Linked DNA regions of Homo sapiens: regions 1 and 3 are each linked to region 2. The links are contacts of gene promoters, found by promoter capture Hi-C in human tissues and cell types (Jung and others, 2019). All regions are on one chromosome and are shown on one strand. The core of a region is centred on a gene start or on the middle of the fragment in contact, and the rest is flanking DNA. Distances in the headings are between cores, read along the strand shown.

What was found. The method cuts DNA at HindIII sites, captures the fragments that hold promoters and counts their contacts. A contact is called where the count stands out against the background at its distance.
Region 1: a contact is called between a fragment that was not itself captured here and the fragment with the promoter of OCSTAMP in region 2, in 2 of the 25 tissues and cell types used here (lymphoblastoid cells and thymus).
Region 3: a contact is called between a fragment that was not itself captured here and the fragment with the promoter of OCSTAMP in region 2, in 2 of the 25 tissues and cell types used here (dorsolateral prefrontal cortex and thymus).

The regions. Positions count from the first base shown.
Region 1 is chr20:46,584,681-46,587,935 of GRCh38, reverse strand. All of the region lies in intron 8 of SLC13A3 (solute carrier family 13 member 3), which reads left to right. Among named protein-coding and RNA genes, the nearest start is that of OCSTAMP, 36 kb to the right of the region's middle. The HindIII fragment of the contact is 6,883 bases long and covers 1-3,255 here.
Region 2 is chr20:46,548,984-46,552,149 of GRCh38, reverse strand. OCSTAMP (osteoclast stimulatory transmembrane protein) reads left to right here and starts at 1,496. Exons shown (of 3, transcript NM_080721.3): 1 at 1,496-1,633. The coding sequence starts at 1,590. The HindIII fragment of the contact is 9,290 bases long and covers 1-3,166 here.
Region 3 is chr20:46,492,737-46,495,757 of GRCh38, reverse strand. It overlaps a transcript of ZNF334 not described here. Among named protein-coding and RNA genes, the nearest start is that of ZNF334, 19 kb to the left of the region's middle. The HindIII fragment of the contact is 6,670 bases long and covers 1-3,021 here.

The DNA of each region.
Region 1 (3,255 bases), core at 569-3,068, 35 kb before region 2:
ATATGATTATTAATAGGTCCCTCTTTCACTCTCAAAAGAGTTTAGGTTTGGGTGATAAAATATGACTTCTCATGTGTTGGGAGCTCTGGATTTGGAGTCAGACTAAACTGGGTTAGAATTCTAGCTCTGCCACTTACGAGCTGTGTGACTGAGCAAATCGTTCATTCATTCAATCAACATTGATTGAGAACCTATTATGTGCTAAGCTGGATGCTGGATGCTGGGACACAGACAAAAGCAAGTAGTTAGACAACAAAACAACTGCATTGCAATGAGTGCTATGAAGGAAAGACTGAGAGGGTTATGCTATAAAATAATAGAGCAGGGGCATTGACTTTGGACAGTTCTGGGAAGAGCCAAAGCTTAGGAAGACTGCAGATGAAAGCAGTGGAGATGCCCTGGGAATGTCTACTGAAGCCTGAGTCAGAACAAACGTAGCATGTTTGAGAAAATGAGAAAAGCCCAGTGGGAGCGAGGCCTGGTGGGAAGGAAGGAAAGCGGGTGAGGAAAGGTAGGGGAGGGCCAGATCAGAGTGTCTTTTCGGGCATGTTATGCATTTTGGTTTGTTTTTTTTCTGTGAGCAGTGGGCAGCCATTGGAGGGTTGTAAGGTACTCAACCTCTCTGTGCCTCAGTTTCCTAATCTGTAAAATGATATTATACTAGTACGTTTTTCATTGACTTGTTGTAAAGGTAAATGAGTTAATACATGTCAAGTGATTAAAATGGCTCATAAAAAGAACTCAATAGTTGTTAGCTATATTCATTAGGAAATGGGTAGTGGGGGCAAAAATATAGACGAGGAGAATAGTTAGGAGCTATAACATCATCTAGATGGCCCGTGTCTTTTTGGGCCAAATCTGGCCCGCCATTTGATTTTGAATGATTTTTACATTTTTTAAATGGCTGCGGAAAAATCAAAAGACAACGTCTTGTAATACACGAAAATTATATGAAATTCAAATTTCAGTGTCTGCAAATAAAGTTTTATTGACACACAGCCACACCTATTCAATTACATATTGTCTATGGCTGCTTTCATACTCCAATGTCAAATGTGAGTCCAGACAAACACCATGTGGCCTGCAAAGCCAAAATACTTACTGTGTGGCTTTTTACAGGAGACATTTGCTGACCCCTGGTCTGGGGGATGGCTTGAGTGAGGGTGGTAGCAATGGCAATGTAGCAGTCAAGATATCATTCAAAGTTAAATGTGGGACTTGTGCTGGGTTGGATTGGGGGGTGTGAATGAAAGGAGTACCTGCATGGATGGTGGTTAATTGGAGAAGAATATTTTTTAGGGGGCTGGGAATGGCTTATTCATAATTCTATTTTGGACTTGGTTTAGACTTGTCAAGCTCAATAGGCAGTTAGATATGCAAGACTGGAGCTTAGAGGAGATGTTTAGGTTGCAGACATAAATCTGGGAGTCATTGTATAAATTTGGGAGTTAAATCCGTAGGAATCAATGGGCTCAGCTATGGAAAGTGTTTAAGTAGAGTATAGACCATGAGGAACCCCAGCACTTGGGAGCTGGGGAAAGGAAAATGAATTTACCAGAGAAACAGAGAGATGGTGAGTGAGGTAGAAGGAAAACTTAGAGCTATGGACCAGCAAAAGCCAAGAGAGGGGAGTGTTTTAAGAAGCGTGAGTGGGCACTGTGTCAAATTCTGGTGTGAGTGGGAACATGATTAAATAGAGATGTATCTGCTGGATTTGGTGAAATCTGATTATTTCAGTTAGCCCCATCCAAGAGAGATATAATGTGAGCCACATATGTATTTTAAATTTTTTGGTAGCTATATTAAAAAAGTGAAAAACAGATGAAACTAATATGAATAATATATTTTATGTATAAATTATTAGTGAGATATTTTGCATTCTTTTTTTCATGTGAAATCATCAAAATCTGGTGTGTGCTTTACATTTAAAGCACATGTCAGTTTGGTCTTGCCACATTTCAAGTGCCCACTAGCCCACATGTGGCTTGTGGCTACCATACTGGGCAGTGCACAATCCAGATATCTCACCTTCTGGGCCTCAACCTCTTCCCTGGTAAAATGGGTGACATAAATTCTGATCTCCTGAAGGTTGTTATAAGCAAGAAACAATATAATTTCATGAAGCCATGAAGCTCTTGTTGCTCTTACCATTTTTTTATTTTTCTAAAATGTAGATGCTTTATTTTTTTCAGATGCAAAATGGGCATTATAAGCATTTCAACAATACAGAAAATGTGAAGATCAGCTAAATCTCAGTCTCTAATTCTGATATACATCTTTCCTGACTTTTAAACAATGCCTATCTGAGAACTGTTCTACATTGTGATCACGCTGTTATCGGACTGCATACATTTGTCAAGACTTGTTAAACTATACCCTTAAAATGGGTGCATTTTATTGCATGTTAATTATACCTCAATGAAACATATGCCAATTGGCTTTTAGAACCCTATTAAAAGAAGATTTTTTTAACAGAAATGTGATCACGTCAACATATTATTTGTAATCCGCTTTTTAATTTTGTATTGAATTTCAAAAGTTATGCATACTCATAAAAATTCAAACAATGCTGAATTGAAAAAGGAAAAGTTAGTGGCTCTTTATCCACTTTATGTCCCACTGCCCAGAGATCATCACCATGAGCAGTTTGGTGTATGACATTCCAGATACGCACACATATCTTCATACATACACACATACAAATATGTATACATATAACAAAAGACTGTAAAATATAATAATATGATCATGGACAACTTGCCATTTGGACTTACTCCATTCTTTTTTTTTAATTTTATTTTCTTGGACTCAGGTCACAAATTTATTCTTTTAAAACACTGCATAGTACTCTACAGAATGGGAGCACTTTGATTTATTTAACCAATTCCTTATTGGATTGTGTTCAATGCTTCAAATCAAAACTTTCAAAATAAAATTTACAGGGTGTCTTGGTTGTGTTTCTATGTCAATACATAGATTGACGTTATCTTTTATCTTTTTTTAAACAGATGCAGTGTACTTCATAATATGAATGGAACACAATTTCTTTAAACATGTGTCTATCAAAAATCTTCCAATTTTTTTTTACTCTTATCAGTAATGAACATCGTTGCACATAATCTGTGTACAAAAGTACGACTGTTTCTCAAGGTTAAATTCCTAGAAGGAGGATAACTGGATCAAAGGGTATTTACATGTAAAATTGGAAACATGTTGCCAAATGCCCCAGGAGGTTAAACTGGTTTATTCTTTCAC
Region 2 (3,166 bases), core at 247-2,746:
CAGGGGTGCACTGTCTGGGAAGTGTGTTAGGCCCTCTGAGGGTTCTGGCCACAGGTATTCCATTCAATCGCTGTGTAACTATAAGAACGTCACTTCCCCTATCCAGGCCGCAGGACATTCCCCTTCAGGCCTGAGAGTGACCCAGGCAACATGTCCTTATAAGGGAAAGTGGCTGTGCCCCTACTGGTCCATCCCACAGAGGGGGAGCCTGGGGGGCTCAGGGGAGGCCTGCTGGGAGTGATGGGGTACAGAGATGCTGGAGAGGTGTCTGCATTCCAGGTAGGAACTGGCTTTCAGGACAGCCTGAAAGCAGACCTGCAGGGCACTAACTGCAGAGGGTGTGCGTGGGGAATTTACATTATTGAGTACCTACTATTTGCAGTACCAGCTGTACTATGAAGTAATCACGAGGTCTGTGAATTATCCCCTCCACAGCAGCAGAGCCCAGTGGCTAACTGGTATACCCTGAAGCCAGCCCGCTGGTTAGAAATCACGGCAGTACCATTAATAGCTGAGTGGCGTGGTTGGCGACGTAGCTCTCTGAGTCTCAGTTTTCTGAGCTGAAGAATGAAAATAACATCTTTACCATAAAGGGATGTTCAAAGTAAGTGTTCAGTGAATTTGAAGAGAAATTGTTTAGAAGAATGCCTGATACATAGTAAGTGCTCAATAAATGTTAACTGTTATTTTCATTAACTATTTTTTTTTGAGACGGAGTCTCGCTCTGTGCCCAGGCTGGAGTGCAGTGACGTGATCTCAGCTCACTGCAACCTTGTCTCCTAGGTTCAAGTGATTCTCCTGCCTCAGCCTCCCGAGTATCTGGAACTACAGGTATGCACCACCACAAACCAGATAATTTTTGTATTTTTAGTAGAGACAGGGTTTCACCATGTTGGTCAGGCTGATCTCAAACTCCTGACCTCAGGTGATCCACCCCCCTCAGCCTCCCAGAGTGCTGGGATTACAGATGTGAGCCACTGTGCCCAGCCTCATTAAACTTTTTTTAAGGGGAGAAAACCAGCAGAGAGATATGAGGTCACCTGCCCAAGGTCTCATAGCTAGGGAGGGACAGAGCTGAGATTTGAAGCGAGGTACAAGTCAGGCTAAAGACAGGAAGGGGGCTGGGGAAGGAGACCAGAGCCACTGCTCCCAGTACTTGGCAGGGGTCTGATTATCACCTGTGAGTCCCAAGAGCAGGGATCAGGCTCCCCTTGGGGCACACAACTATGGAGTGGGAGGGAAAGGGAAGCTGTATGGTTTCTCTGTGCCTCAGTTTCCTTCTCTGTAAAATGGGGCTAATTCTACCTTCCTGCTACCAAGATTAGAGACATCGCTTGGAAAAGGCTGTCTTTTCCTCTTCCCACACCTTCCACCCGCTCTTGCTTGTGGGCAGAGGATGAGGCAGCTTGCCCAACCCTCTGGGAGGTGGGCCCCGAAAAGGGCGGGACAAGGCAGCCAGGAGAGCTTCATTAAAGAGTGGAAAAGCAGAAGTGGCAGGGATTCCCAAGTCCCAGCGATTCCCCCACTTCCTCTCCACCTGCCACAGCTGCCAGCGACCGCCCGCCTGAAACCACTGCCATTTGGACAGCATGCCAGGCCACCCAGGAGCAGCTGAGCAACTTGTCAAGACCGGGTAGGTCTGGGGACTTTGGACACTGAGGGCTACAGGTGAGAAAACAGTCAGCCATTGGGGGTGATGGATATGAACCCAAATCTTCAGCTCTGCCATTCCTTGGCTATGTGACCTTAGGCAAATCCTCAGTTCTCTGTGAGCCTCAGTTCCCCATCTGTGAAATGGAAGTAATAATGACATCTACAAGACTGTTGCCAGAATTGAATGAGAAAACACATGCTTAGTACTTGGCACCTGCTTGGCTCAGAGGAAGCACTCACTAAACAGCAGCTAGTTTCCTTGCCATTTTCAATACCCCGTGCAGGAATTGTCATCCAATATGACTTAGGACTGGCTTTCAATCCTTAAAATTGTTTTTATTATTAGCTATTATTCCAAAAGCTACTGTGTTCCAAATATTAATTATATAGTAGAAGGGGGTGTTTAGTCCCAAATTCAAATGCCTTCGGGAGCTGGGAAGGGGTTGCACCTGTGGAAGGCCACCTGGGTGTGCAGACGGACCCGTTCATTGATCAGCAGGATGCAGTCTGCAGGGCTGCTCCCCTGTCAAAGGTGGGTAGTGGATACTCAGCTCCAGCTACCTGTTGCAAAGGTGGGAGCTCTAACCCAGATCTTCTTATCTCTCAAGAAAAGCTGGAAACCCAGATTTTAATGTGAAACTTCCTTATTTCCAAATGGGGGCAGCTTACACACACACACACACACACAGAGTGGGCCACAATAAGGCACATTTGCATATGATTCAGCCTTTAGGGCTTCAAGGTTGTGACCTTCACTCCAGCCCCACAGGCCTCACTGCATCTCAGCTTCCCACTGTTCTGGTTCTCCCAACTCCCTATTTCCCGATGGTCAGAGCACAGGACCTTTGCACACGCTGTTCCTTCTGTCAGGGATGTCCAACTCCCTTCTTCACCCACAAACTGACACTTGTCCTTCCACCCCCAGCTGGAATGTCACCTCTTCCAGGGAGCCTTCCTGACTCCCAGGTAAAACTGGGTCACTCTCCATCTATCCCACCCCAGTCCAGGCCCAGGCATACTATGCTCAGAATTCTTTGTTAATGAACTTAAACTCTAATGGTCTATTTAAGTCTCCTCAATTAGACTGTGAACTCCTTTAGTGGGACCAGGACTTAATTCATCTTTGTGTCCACAGGGGTCAGCACAGAGCCTGGGCACAGAGGAGACTCGAGTGAAACATTTACATCGTTGACATAAGTATCATCAGAGTAACAAGTGGTGCAGTTTTATAGGATCCCTCTTCTGTGCCAGACCCTGTGTAAACTTCTTTACATGGATTATTTCATTTTATTGTCCCAGAAGCCCTGTGACAAAGGTTTCTGTATTAGTCAGGACTCATTGAGTTGCAAGTGACAGATTGATCTTACACTGCCTGTAGAAAAACAGACATCTCCTAGTGTGTGGTCCGGCATAGATTTCGGCTTCAGGCATTTCTGGATCCAGGTCCTCCAACAAGGCCACTGGGACTCTCTGTCTGTTTCCTAACACTGTTTTCCTTGTGTTGCCTTCATCC
Region 3 (3,021 bases), core at 459-2,958, 57 kb after region 2:
TTTGCTTCTGCCAGTGGAAACACACGTGCATCCCATGGTTATTTCCTCAGTCCCAGAATGCACAGTGGAGACAGACTTAGTGGCAGAATCCTCATATTGGTTCCCTGACAATGGAGAAAATACTCTTATACCCCATGATAATTTAAAAGTTATCCAGGCCAGATATGTTTTAGGTCAAAAGGTGGGGGATAAGAGATAGGTCTCTGCATCAAATCACTGGCTAGTATTGTTTATATGAGGTACATGGATCATATTCTGTGCTGACTCCAATTTTGCATTCTATGGAAGTTATCTTCAGAGATAATTTAATCTTTAAAAGGGTTAAAGCATTTATTCAACAGCCAGTTGTCTTGTGTCCCCTCTTATGAAGTCAGTGATTGAACTTAGGACCCACCCTAATCTAGTATGATTTGATCTTGATTACATCTTCAAAATGATCCTAGTTTTAAATAGGGTCACATTAATGAGCACCGGCAGTTAAAACCTCAACATACCTTTAGGGAGGGATTCCATTCAATCCACAAACGCTCTGTTAGATTTATATCTCCTCAAATATGTGAGAATGAAAATATAAGGAATTATTAAATGCAAAAGATGCATCATTTACATTGGTGTGCAGATGATATTTTGAGCCTAAATTGAAGTATTTAACTTCTCTCTCCATCTGTTATTTTTGCTTAAACAATAGAACTGTTATGTGATTTTAATATTAAAACCCCAATGAAAATATAAAACTTTCTGCTGAAACTTTCCAATGAGAATGTTATGAATAGCCTAACATTTACATGATGGCTATTCTTTTATCTTTTTTACAAAACTGGAGACATTGGGTTTAGGAATTAGTGACAGCGCCTAGGAAATATGGCAGAGATACAAAGAAGAAAGTGTTAGATGTCAATGAAAAATTTTTGAGTTTAGTGATGGTGAATTTGGGATATGAGGCTTTTCAGAACAAGTTGTTCTGGTGTGTCCTAGGAAACTTTTCTCACTCTAGACTTTAGAGTTAGCAGTTTGACCTGATAGGAGCTGTGTTGGAAAGTCTTCGTGTATTTGAAACATATGAAATGGCTCCTGTTTAACTTTAACCCAGGATATTAAGGACCAAAATTAGGGATGACAGGTCCCATGTATAATTTTTGTCTTTATCCCAATAGCCACTCCCATTTTTATAATATTCATAACAATATTTTCTTTGTACTGAGCTAAATTATTTCAGTTGCATTTTTGGCTTATATTTAACTTGAGATCTATAAAACTGATGTGTCTGTTATTTGTAAAAAGTGAGCTATATATACACATACACCTTTCCTTAGAGATATAAACGTACTGATGCCTCAACACACAAGTAATGAGGCAGATGGAAAGGAAGCACACCTGGGGATTATACAACACTTGAGCTCTGTGGCAGCTCCTGTCATATCTGAGAAAGCAAAGAAAGGTGAGAGCATGAAGAAACTGAATAGTGTCTATGGATTGAGGCCAATCCTAACTATGCCCATCCCACTTGGCTAAACACAGGCAAGTTGCCACCGACGTTTATGAGAACAAATTTGGGAAAGTAATTCGACTTCTATACAAGGCTCAAATGTATTCAGTATTACATGCTAGTGTTAGCATATACTAGAAAGCTTAGCATTTAAGACATACAACAAGAAATCAATTTCAAATAACATAATATTCCCAGTAATAGGTTCTCCATATTCTGAATCTAAAGCCTAGAATTGTTGCAATTTTTCCATTTCTTCTTGATTCTCTAGAAACATATAAGAATGGTGCAAACTATTCAGGGAGGCTGGGTGTCTTAGTTATATCCACTTATTTTTTGGCTTTGAGACAGTCTCGCTCTGTCACCCAGGCTGGAGTGCAGTGGCATGATCTCTGCTCACTGCAACCTCTGCCTCCTGGGTTCAAGTGATTCTCATGCCTCAGCCTCCCTAGTAGCTGGGATTAAAGGCGCACGCCACCATACCATGCTAATTTTTGTGTTTTTACTACAAAGGCACCACGCTCCTGCTTTCCCTTCAGGGCTAGGGATGGTAAATCCCTTGTTGGTTTCCCACAACCCTTTCCACACTTTTGTAAAGAGTCTCTTCATTCAATTTTCTTTCACTTATTTCAAATGAGCTATTTCTTAATGGGACAGACAGGGTTTCACCATGTTGGCCAGGCTGGTCTCAAACTCTTGACCTCAAGTGATCCACCCACCTCAGTCTCCCAAAGTGCTGGGATTACAGGCGTGAGCCACTGCGCCCGACCATTTAGACAAGACAGCAGAAACCATCTTGACCACAGACCCAAGACCTTTGGATTTCTCATGTTACCCCTCCTAACTCTTTACCCTTTAGTTCAGATCCATGATCAGCTTTTTGCTTTTCACTGTCTACTAGCAAAAGTTCTCCAAAACTTCTAATTCACCCAGAAGAGATGGCTTTTGTTTTCCTTACTTACGCTTAAATTAGGGTTGCATCATCTAGCCTATAAAAGTTTGCATCTTTAGATAGCTGCCTCTATTTGTTAATCCAGTGAAAGTAGATTATGGACAAACAGCAAAATGAATGTTCACTGTAGCCTTCTAGCTGCCTCTTAGCTTATCACTGCTTACCACAGGAAATGCCTTATCCAATTTCAAATTTAGTTGAATACATTTAACAGTTTTTTTTTTTTTTTCTAAAGACAGAGTCTCACCCTGTCACCCAGGCTGGAGTGCAATGGCACGATCTCAGCTCACTGCAACTTCCGCCTCTGGGGTTCAAGTGATTCTCCTGTCTCAGCCTCCCAAGTAGCTGGGATTACAGGTGTGCACCACCACGCCCTGCTAATTTTTTTTTTTCTATGTTTAGGAGAGATGGGGTTTCACTATGTTGACCAGGCTGGTCTGGAACTCTTGACCTCATGAACCACCTGCCTTGGCCAAAGATTCAAGTCAGTGCAATAAAAAAAGTACATTTCTGATCACATCTCCATTTCTTCAACATTTACATATTTATATTTCCAAGATACTCCATACAGCATGAATCCACG